Linked DNA regions of Homo sapiens: region 2 is linked to region 1. The links are contacts of gene promoters, found by promoter capture Hi-C in human tissues and cell types (Jung and others, 2019). All regions are on one chromosome and are shown on one strand. Each heading gives the region's core, a stretch centred on a gene start or on the middle of the fragment in contact. The rest is flanking DNA. Distances are from core to core; before and after follow the strand shown. Region 1 holds the start of MLX (MAX dimerization protein MLX). Region 2 overlaps DNAJC7 (DnaJ heat shock protein family (Hsp40) member C7).

What was found. Contacts are between HindIII fragments. The study calls those that stand out against the background at their distance.
Region 2: a contact is called between a fragment that was not itself captured here and the fragment with the promoter of MLX in region 1, in 1 of the 25 tissues and cell types used here (spleen).

Annotation. Positions count from the first base shown.
Region 1 is chr17:42,565,850-42,570,319 of GRCh38, reverse strand. MLX (MAX dimerization protein MLX) reads right to left here and starts at 3,220. Exons shown (of 8, transcript NM_198204.2): 1 at 3,154-3,220; 2 at 2,665-2,701; 3 at 1,761-1,850; 4 at 1,377-1,483; 5 at 1,017-1,116; 6 at 714-813; 7 at 137-338. The coding sequence starts at 3,195. COASY (Coenzyme A synthase) reads right to left here. Exons shown (of 9, transcript NM_025233.7): 9 at 4,043-4,414. The coding sequence ends at 4,352. RefSeq lists enhancers at 2,469-2,558, 2,434-2,941, 3,699-3,748, 3,955-4,461, 4,462-4,470 and a silencer at 2,959-3,358. The HindIII fragment of the contact is 10,895 bases long and covers 1-4,470 here.
Region 2 is chr17:41,979,783-41,984,252 of GRCh38, reverse strand. DNAJC7 (DnaJ heat shock protein family (Hsp40) member C7) reads left to right here. Exons shown (of 14, transcript NM_003315.4): 10 at 617-690; 11 at 1,852-1,998; 12 at 2,246-2,398. Among named protein-coding and RNA genes, the nearest start is that of CNP, 15 kb to the right of the region's middle. The HindIII fragment of the contact is 3,240 bases long and covers 754-3,993 here.

The DNA.
Region 1 (4,470 bases), core at 1,971-4,470:
CAGGGCCCTCAAAGCTGTAGAAACGCCCTTAAGATCTAAAAGCAGCTGCCACGCTTTTCTCAACAGCTGATGGCTTGGGCCACTTTGCTTGATGGTAGAGAAAACCGCAGACCCTGTGCCTATTGTTGCCCCATACCTGAGGCTTACAGTGCTCCTCGATCCAGCTGAAGACACACGCTGACAGCTCCTGGAAGCTGGCCACTGAGATGGAGGCATTGAAGGACTGGAACAGGGAATCCATGATGCCTTGAAACACGTTGAACTTGACCTGGTCAGAGACCTGGTCCTCCCCTTCATGGGGGTTGTCCTGGTGTGCCTTCACAATCTGCTCATAGTTCCTAAAAGCATGCAGGCCAGGGCTGAGGTGCTGCAGCAGCTCCGCCCACCCAAGAAGAATGACGGGACTATCCTGTGTACTCCCAGGAATGGCAGCCCCAGAGAGCTTCTGGGTGGGGTTCAGTATCAGGGAGATACTGCTTCCAGGTCAGGAAAGGTGGCCCTCTCTCTCCAACCTTCCTTACATTAATCCAACAGGCATTTCCTGAGTGTCTGCCATGTGTAAGGACAGTTGGGGATACACAGTCCTACTGGCTAGCTCAGGAACTAAGAGTATTATCTGTACAGCAGTAACTGATGTGGCCTTTGAACAAGGGAGGGTGTGCAATGAAGTTGCCTCAGAAGTTCTGGTTCCCCCCATTCAGCACCCCTCTTACACTTTCATGATCTTTAGGGCGGTGACATCCTTGCGTAACGTGGACACCTCCTCCTCCTGCTTTTTCTTCTCCTTGTGCAAAAACTGAATGTAGTCAATGGCTAGGGTGGGGGCAAGAAAAAAAGGACAGGTACAGAAGTATTCTCAACCAAGAAGATAAGGCTGACTTTGTTCCCCTTACCCCAGACCCCAACTATCCCATGGCAATCACCACACCAAGGCCGAGCCATGGGTGGGTAGGAGGCACTGGCCTCTTCACAGCCCCGCTTGGCTCCATCCCCTCCAGTGCTTTCCCTAGCCATACTCTTTTGTAGAACGATGGCTTTGCTGAGCTTTTGGGAGCCAATGGAGAAGTCCTGCTGCTGGCAAGTGGGGACGATGGTCTGAAGGTCATCATAGCCTCTCTGTGGAAACAGCAGGGGAAATGGGTTCTTTAACCCTGAGAGATTAAAGCAAAATGGCACAAAGTTCCTCCATGACACCAAGTTCTATGCTCACAAACTCAATGGGGTGGGAAGGCTGCAAGGGAGGTGTTTGTGCCTGGGACTATACTACCTGCCCACCCCCTAGGGTGCCTGGGACTGTCTGAGTGGGTCAGGGCACAGGGAAGCTAAACTATGCAGGGCCCTCCCGCACTGGCTGAGGCACAGGCCTCCCTGTTCACCTTGATGGCGTCCCTCCTCTTCTGCTCAGCCTGAGTGTGTGCGCGCCGCCGCCGGTCTTTGTAGGACTCCTTGTAGGCCTCCTGGTGGTAATCACTGTCCTCATCATCTACGCTCAGAGATGGGGGCAGGGAAAGGTCATCTTGGGGCCCAGTGGGGTCCAGCTAGCCCACCTTTCCCCAGCTGGGAAGAACCTGGTGTCCAGAGAAGGCAGATGGACAGAACCACCTAATGTTCCAGATGAGGTGAAAGATGGTGAGACCTTGTGTCTGATACTTTGGCTCCAGCACCCCTGTGTGGATGGCTGGGGCTTCCCTGTCTAGGAAAGGTACTACAATTATGACATATCTGAGCCCCCCGAGGTCGGGGGGGATGTTACTGCCTACCTGTGTTGGGGACAGAAGAGGCACTGGTGGAACCGATGCTATTAGCTCTGGACACTACACTCCCCTTGCGGGTGCTTTCTACAAAAAGCCCTGGAAAAGAGAGGCCCCAATCACTAAGGGGTGGGGTGGGGAACATTGCCAGACCCTCAGACACCTGTAGGACACAATGGCTTTCTTTTATTTATTTATTTTTTTTTTAGACAGAGTCTCGCTCAGTCGCCCAGGCTAGAGTGCAGTGGCGCGATCTCGGCTCACTGCAAGCTCCGCCTCCCAGGTTCACGCCATTCTCCTGCCTCAGCCTCCCGAGTAGCTGGGACTACAGGCGCCCGCCACCACGCCCGGCTAATTTTTTTGTATTTTTTAGTGGAGACGGGGTTTCACCGTGTTAGCCAGGATGGTCTCGGTCTCCTGACCTCGTGATCCGCCTGCCTCGGCCTCCCAAAGTGCTGGGATTACAGGGGTGAGCCACCGCGCCCGGCCACACAATGGCTTTCTTAAATGCTGACCTCTTCCCTTCAACCCAAAGCCAACCATACTGGGCCCCCCACTTCCTGCCAGACCACGCTGCAGTGCTCTGCTCCCTAGTGTCTACACTGCTCCATAGGCCTGCATGATACCCCCCTGGCTCACAAACGGGCATGTGGACGTGATGAGGGTGTGAGTGATCAGCTGCTCCACTGAGTGGTGAGTGATCAGTTCCACCACTTCCCTGTTCCAGAGCAGAGGGAACTAGGTGTCACCCTCAGTTGTTTTCTGCCCTTGTCCTTCAGCTCCTGCTGTCTCAAGCCAGGAACTCTGCTCAGGGAGAGTGGACTGTGCTCAGGCGTGGTTGGCAACGCCACAAGAATCTAGAGAGCCTGGGCGGGAGTGTCCCTCTAGAGCTTAAGATGGGGCAGCTACTCACCGGGGTCCAGGCTGTTGTCGCTGTAGGCATACTCCACCTGCGGCACAGAGCACGGGAAGGGCCCGTCAGACCTCCGCCCCTAGGGGGAGGCGCCCCTTCCACTGCAGGCACGCACAGCGCGCCCCCCATTCCGGGAAGGCGCCTCTGTCACCCTGCGCGCTTGCACACACACAGCCCGGGGTGCGCGGGCAGCTTAATGAGTCCCCCGAGACTGGCACAGGCTAGGGCGTGCGAGTGCCTCCCCTGTGTATGATCCCTTCCGCCCCTACTCCACCCCAGTGCCCCGTTCCCCCGACTCGCGCGCACACGCCTCGTTTGTCTCCCCACCTTGGCACACGCGGGGTGAGAGCTGTCTTCTCTGCAGCCCCGGGGCACGGAGAGCGTGGGGGACTTTGGGGACAGGAGGGAAGCCCCTCGTCTTCCGGCCCCCCTACGTGCACGAGCCCGACCCGCCCTCCCCTCGCCGGCGTGCGCGCCCACGGGGCTTGCCTTGACCCAAGGGTCCTCGGGAGAGGCGCCCGGCTCCGTCATCTTGTACCCACCGGACCGGAAACGGGCCAGCGGGCGGGCCCCCTGCGGCGAGGAAGCGGGTGGCGTGCCCACGTGACCCGCGCCCGCCAATCCGCGACCGAGAGGTGGGGCAGGGCGAAGCATCGCGCATGCGCAGCCCAAAGACTTTACTCCACGGTTCCAGCCGTCAAGGCCCGGCGCTTGGCCTGGCGCCAGCCTCCTTCGAGACTGCTCCCCGCCGTGCCTGCCCTCCCCGGGTTAGGCAGTGGAATGGCGGCGACATGAAGCGCGTTTTGTAAGATGGAGTCCCCTCAATTGGCTTGTCAGCACACCGCCGCAGATAGTGTGTGCACGCGCACTGTCCGGCCGGCCGGCTCCCCACGTTACCCTGAGGGCGGCCTCCCCGCGCTCACCGGACCTGCACTGCTGGCCGGTGTGTCAGGAACCGGGCAGAGAAGCCCCCAGCCACATCGTCCGACCCCACCAGGCTGCAAGCTCTGTGAGGGCAGAGGCCCCGCCTGGCGCGCGGAAGGCTGATCTTCCAACACCCAGCCCAGTGTCTGGCAGGATGCATGTGGAATGAACCCTTGCAAAGAACCTGCTAGCTAGGTTATGCGGCCTCTCATATTAAAAACAAAACAAAAACAATAAAACACGGCAGTACCTAGAAAGTCTACACCTTACTCAGAAGAACACAGCTGGTCAGTGGGAGGGCCAAAGCTCGCCTCTGGCTAGCCTCAAAGGCCATTCTCTTAACCACTGCATTGCCCAGGCTTCCAGCTCAGGCCTGGGCCCTGCACTTGTGGCTTAAGGATCCCAAAGATACTTAGGGGCATTGGAACAGGAAGCAGACACCATACAAGCAACATCTCAGAACATTCACCTTTAATTCTGTTACAGGTTCCAGTATTTGCGCTGGCCCTAGTCAGCTGTGGGTAAGAGTCACCCATGGGCAAGAGTGGGGAGGGGACTGCTCCCCCATGAACCACATCCTCAGTGTTGGCCAAATACCAGCGTGTTGGGTAGGCTTCCTGTGTCCACCAGGCCTGGCCATGTCCTGCACAGTATAGCTTGGACCTCTGGGCCTGAACCAGGGTGAGCATCAAGGCCCCCATTTCTCCTCACCACGGGGTCGCTTGTCAGCTCCAGGAGCCAGTCTGGCCCCACTGAGAACTTTTCAGTCGAGGGCCTGATGAGTCTTGGGAATGCGCTTCTGCAAGAGGGCCCAGGCTTTCTCCACCTTCAGACAGGCCAGGATGTTGGGAGGAAGAGAGGGCAGGGTCAGGCAGTACCCAC
Region 2 (4,470 bases), core at 1,124-3,623, 590 kb after region 1:
AGGGCCCCTCCTTTCTTTTGTGCTACTGAAATAGAAGCAAACCTGTGTTTAGAGTTCCCTTTTCTGTCTCATTTACCTGCATCTCTCATTGATTGGTCTTAGTGGAGGGATTTGCCAGCAGCTGCCACGTTGAACTTGATCCTTTTAGTGGCTCACTAATCCCACCTCTATTCTGGATTGTAGCTAGTCCTGCATGTTTATGGCACTATAGGTTTCAAAGCTCTTTCATACCCATTTATTCACTTGATAATTTTTCTCTTGTGTGTTTCAACCCAAAGTAATCAAGTAGATCCCTTCACATTGTCTTTTCTAAGGCAGTCCAGTACCTCTTAGGTGGCTGTGTGTCAGAAGGAACTTTTTCCTCTTGATTACTTTCTGCTCAAAGCTGAACATCACTTTGCTGGTTGGATGCAAGTGCCATGCGACCTCTCTTTTTATTTCCTTGAGGACTTGTTAGCTAATTTTCTCTCACTGCTAGATTAAGGGCTCCTGTTTCTGAAGCATCTTACCAGAAGTGTGTGTCTCTTGCTTGAGCCATGCCTCTTGCCCTAGAGTGATCCTGAGAACCACTGCTATTTATGTCTTAGTGCTGTATTGCCTTGTATTTCCTTCTCAGTTACATGGACACAGAACAGTATGAAGAAGCAGTACGAGACTATGAAAAAGTATACCAGACAGAGAAAACAAAAGGTAAGTTTAAAAGCATTTGTTTTTTAGGGAACTGTGTGGACTTCGTAGGCCATAAATCTGTACACAAGGTAGTTTGATTCAGGGATCAGGGATCTACCTAGAACTTATTTGATCACCAGCCAGAAAGAAGTGAACAAAGGCTGGGCGTGGTGGCTCACGCCTGTAATCCCCAGCACTTTGGGAGGCTGAGGCAGGCAGATCACCTGAGATCAGGAGTTGGAGACCAGACTGGCCAACATGGTGAAACCCCATCTCTACTGAAAATACAAAAAATTGTGGGTATGGTGGTATACGCCTGTAATCCCAGCCACTCAGGAGGCTGGGGCACGAGAATTCCTTGAACCCAGGAGGCGGAGGTTGCAGTGAGCTAAGATTGCGCGACTATACTCCAGCCTGGGTGACGGAGCGAGACTTCATCTCAAAAACAAAAACAAAAAAAAGAAAAAAAAAGTGAACAGATATCTTGGGTTGGGGCATGAGGCACCTATTTTCTGGTTCCAGATCCTCCCTGTCGTTTTCATTTCATTTTTTGTGTGGTGAGGCTAAAGTGAGGAACCTAAGTCTGGGTAGATTTTCTTTTTTCTTTTTCTTTTTTTTTTTTTTAAGATGGAGTCCTGCTCTGTCACCCAGGCTGGAGTGCAATGGCATGATCATAGCTCACTACAACCTTTGCCTCCCAGGTTCAAACAATTATCCTGCCTCAGCCTCCCGAATAACTGGGATTACAGGCACATGGTACCACGCCTGGCTAATTTTTTGTATTTTTAGTAGGGATGGGGTTTCACCATGTTGGACAGGCTAGTCCCGAACTCCTGACCTCGGGTGATCCATTCTGTCAAGCTTGATTCCTCCCATCTTGGGCCAAGGGCCCCTCCTTTCTTTCGTGCTACCGAAATAGAAGCAAACCTGTGTTTAGAGTTCCCTTTTCTGTCTCATTTACCTGCATCTCTCATTGATGCAGGCCTCCCAAAGTGCTGCGATTACAGGCATGAGTCACCGTGCCTGGCCGAGTAGATTTTTTTTCTAATCTCCAGAAGAAAGCACCGTAAAAGTCCCTGGCATGGTTAACAAGGCCTCTAACTCCCAGGCAGCTGGGCTGAGACCTGGTGAGGAAAAAACCAGAGTCAGATTTGTCCACTGATGCCAGATGTCTTCCTGTAGAACACAAACAGCTCCTAAAAAATGCGCAGCTGGAACTGAAGAAGAGTAAGAGGAAAGATTACTACAAGATTCTAGGAGTGGACAAGAATGCCTCTGAGGACGAGATCAAGAAAGCTTATCGGAAACGGGCCTTGATGCACCATCCAGGTAGAGTAGGTGCGGGGAGTGGGCTCAGTGGGAAGAACCCGCAGGGCAGGCCAACTGCCACACTCAGTCCAGAGGGGACCCCTTGGAGAGGTCCTTCAGCTGAGAATAAGGTGTTGCAGACTTGTGGACCCTCCAAATTTTGGGAAGTGCCAAATTCCAAAATTAGACAGAAAGTAGTTTTTCTCTTAAACTTTGTTTTCTTGAAACTTTGATTTCCACTGAGTTGTTCTTTTACTCCCCACTTTAGATCGGCATAGTGGAGCCAGTGCTGAGGTTCAGAAGGAGGAGGAGAAGAAGTTCAAGGAAGTTGGAGAGGCCTTTACTATCCTCTCTGATCCCAAGAAAAAGACTCGCTATGACAGTGGACAGGACCTAGATGAGGAGGGCATGAATATGGGTGGTGAGTTGGCTGGGGCAGCCTGGGATGAATTTGACAGCTGTAGAATGTTAGAATTTTTTCCAAAGATGCTCCAGAGGGAGAGTCTATTTGGGCCAAATCTGATCCCTGGTCCAAACAGTAATAGACATGGAGTCAAACAAATGCAGTCAAATGTGGCAGGTTCACAGTGTGCAGTGAGCTCTGAGGAGGCGAGCACTAGCAAGGGAAGGCTTGGAAGTGCAGAAAAGCATGGCCCCATGGGTCATGCCTGTAATCCCAGCACTTTGGGAGGCCAAGGCAAGCAGATCACTTGAGGTCAGGAGTTTGAGACCAGCCTGGCCAACATGGTGAAACCCTGTCTCTACTAAAAATACAAAAATTAGGCTGGGCGCGGTGGCTCATGCCTGTAATCTCACCACTTTGTGAGGTCAAAGCAGGTTGATCACCAGGTCAGGAGTTTGAGACCAGCCTGGCCAACATGGTGAAACCTCGTCTCTACTAAAATACAGAAATTAGCCAGGTGTGGTGGTGGGCGCCTGTAATCCCAGCTACTCGGGAGGCCGAGGCATGAGAATCGCTTGCACCCAGGAGGCGGAGGTTGCAGTGAGCCGAGATTGTCCCACTGTACTCCATCCTGGGCGACAGAGCAAGACTTTGTCTCAATTAAAAAAAATAATAAGAAGAAAGAAAAAAGAAAAATTAGCCAGGTGTGGTGGTGCACACCTGTAATCCCAGCTACTTGAACCCGGGAGGTGGAGGTTGCAGTGAGCCAAGATGGCGCTACTGCACTCCAGCCTGGGCAACAGAGTGAGACTCCATCCCTCCCCACTAAAAAAGCAAAGCATGGCCTCTTTGGGGATCTGCAGGGGGCTTGGTCTAGGGAAGATAAAGGGATAGGGTGCTAGAGGCAGGTGGTGGTGGAAGGCCGGCAAGTAGCTGGATCAGAGCTCACAGGCCATAAGGGCTGTATGTGGTAAGGAATATGAGCATTTTCCTATTATCTGGAAGTTCTTTTTTACCCACTGCAAAGTGTATGCTGACATTTATGTATGTCATACATTCCTATAAACACTCACAGATTTTAATTTCCCAAAAAGATTTAGCATGATATAAAGCACACCTATTGTCAATATTGTTGCTCACTGTGGGCTGTCAGAGATAAGAGGCCCTGACCTGTGAGCTGGGCGCGGTGGCTTACGCCTGTAATCCCAGCACTTTGGGAAGCCAAGGCGGGCAGATCACCTGAGCTCAGGAGTTCAAGACCACCCTGGGCAACATACAAAATACCAAAAAAATTGTACTCTCTACTAAAATACAAAAAAATTAGCTGAGCATGGTGGTGCATGCCTGTGGTCCAAGCTACTCAGGAGACTGAGGCACCAAAAACTCTTGAGCCCAGGAGGCAGAGGTTGCAGTGAGCTGAGATTGCGCCACTGTACTCCAGCTTGGGTTACAGAGTGCGACTCCATCTCAAAAATTAATTAATTAATTCAGTCAGTCTTCACTCTAAGTTGTCTGCCAAAAAATTTGCTGGGCATGGTGGCTCACGCCTGTAATCCCATCACTTTGGGAGAACAAGGTGGGCGGACCACAAGGTCAAGAGATTGAGACCATCCTGCCCAACATGGTGAAACCCCGTCTCTATGAAAAATACAAAAATTAGCTAGCCATGGTGGCGCACGCCTGTAGTCCCAGCTACTTGGGAGGCTGAGGCAGGAGAATCGCTTGAACTCGGGAGGCGGAGGTTGCAATGAGCTGAGATCGCACCACTGCACTCCAGCCTGGCGACAGAGCAAGACTTGTCTCAAAAAAAAAAAAAAAAAGAGGACCTGACCTGTGAATGGTGAACAGACCTACCATCTCTTCCACTAAGAAAATCTATTGGGATTTTGTTTTTTGTTTTGTTTTGTTTTTTGAGACGGAGTCTTGCTGTGTCACCCAGGCTGGAGTGCAGTGGCACCATCTCGACTCACTGCAACCTCCGCCTCCAGGGTTCAAGTGATTCTTCTGCCTCAGCCTCCCGAGTAGCTGGGACTACAGGTGTGCGCCACCACGCCCAGCTAATTTTTGTATTTTAAGTAGAGACGGGGTTT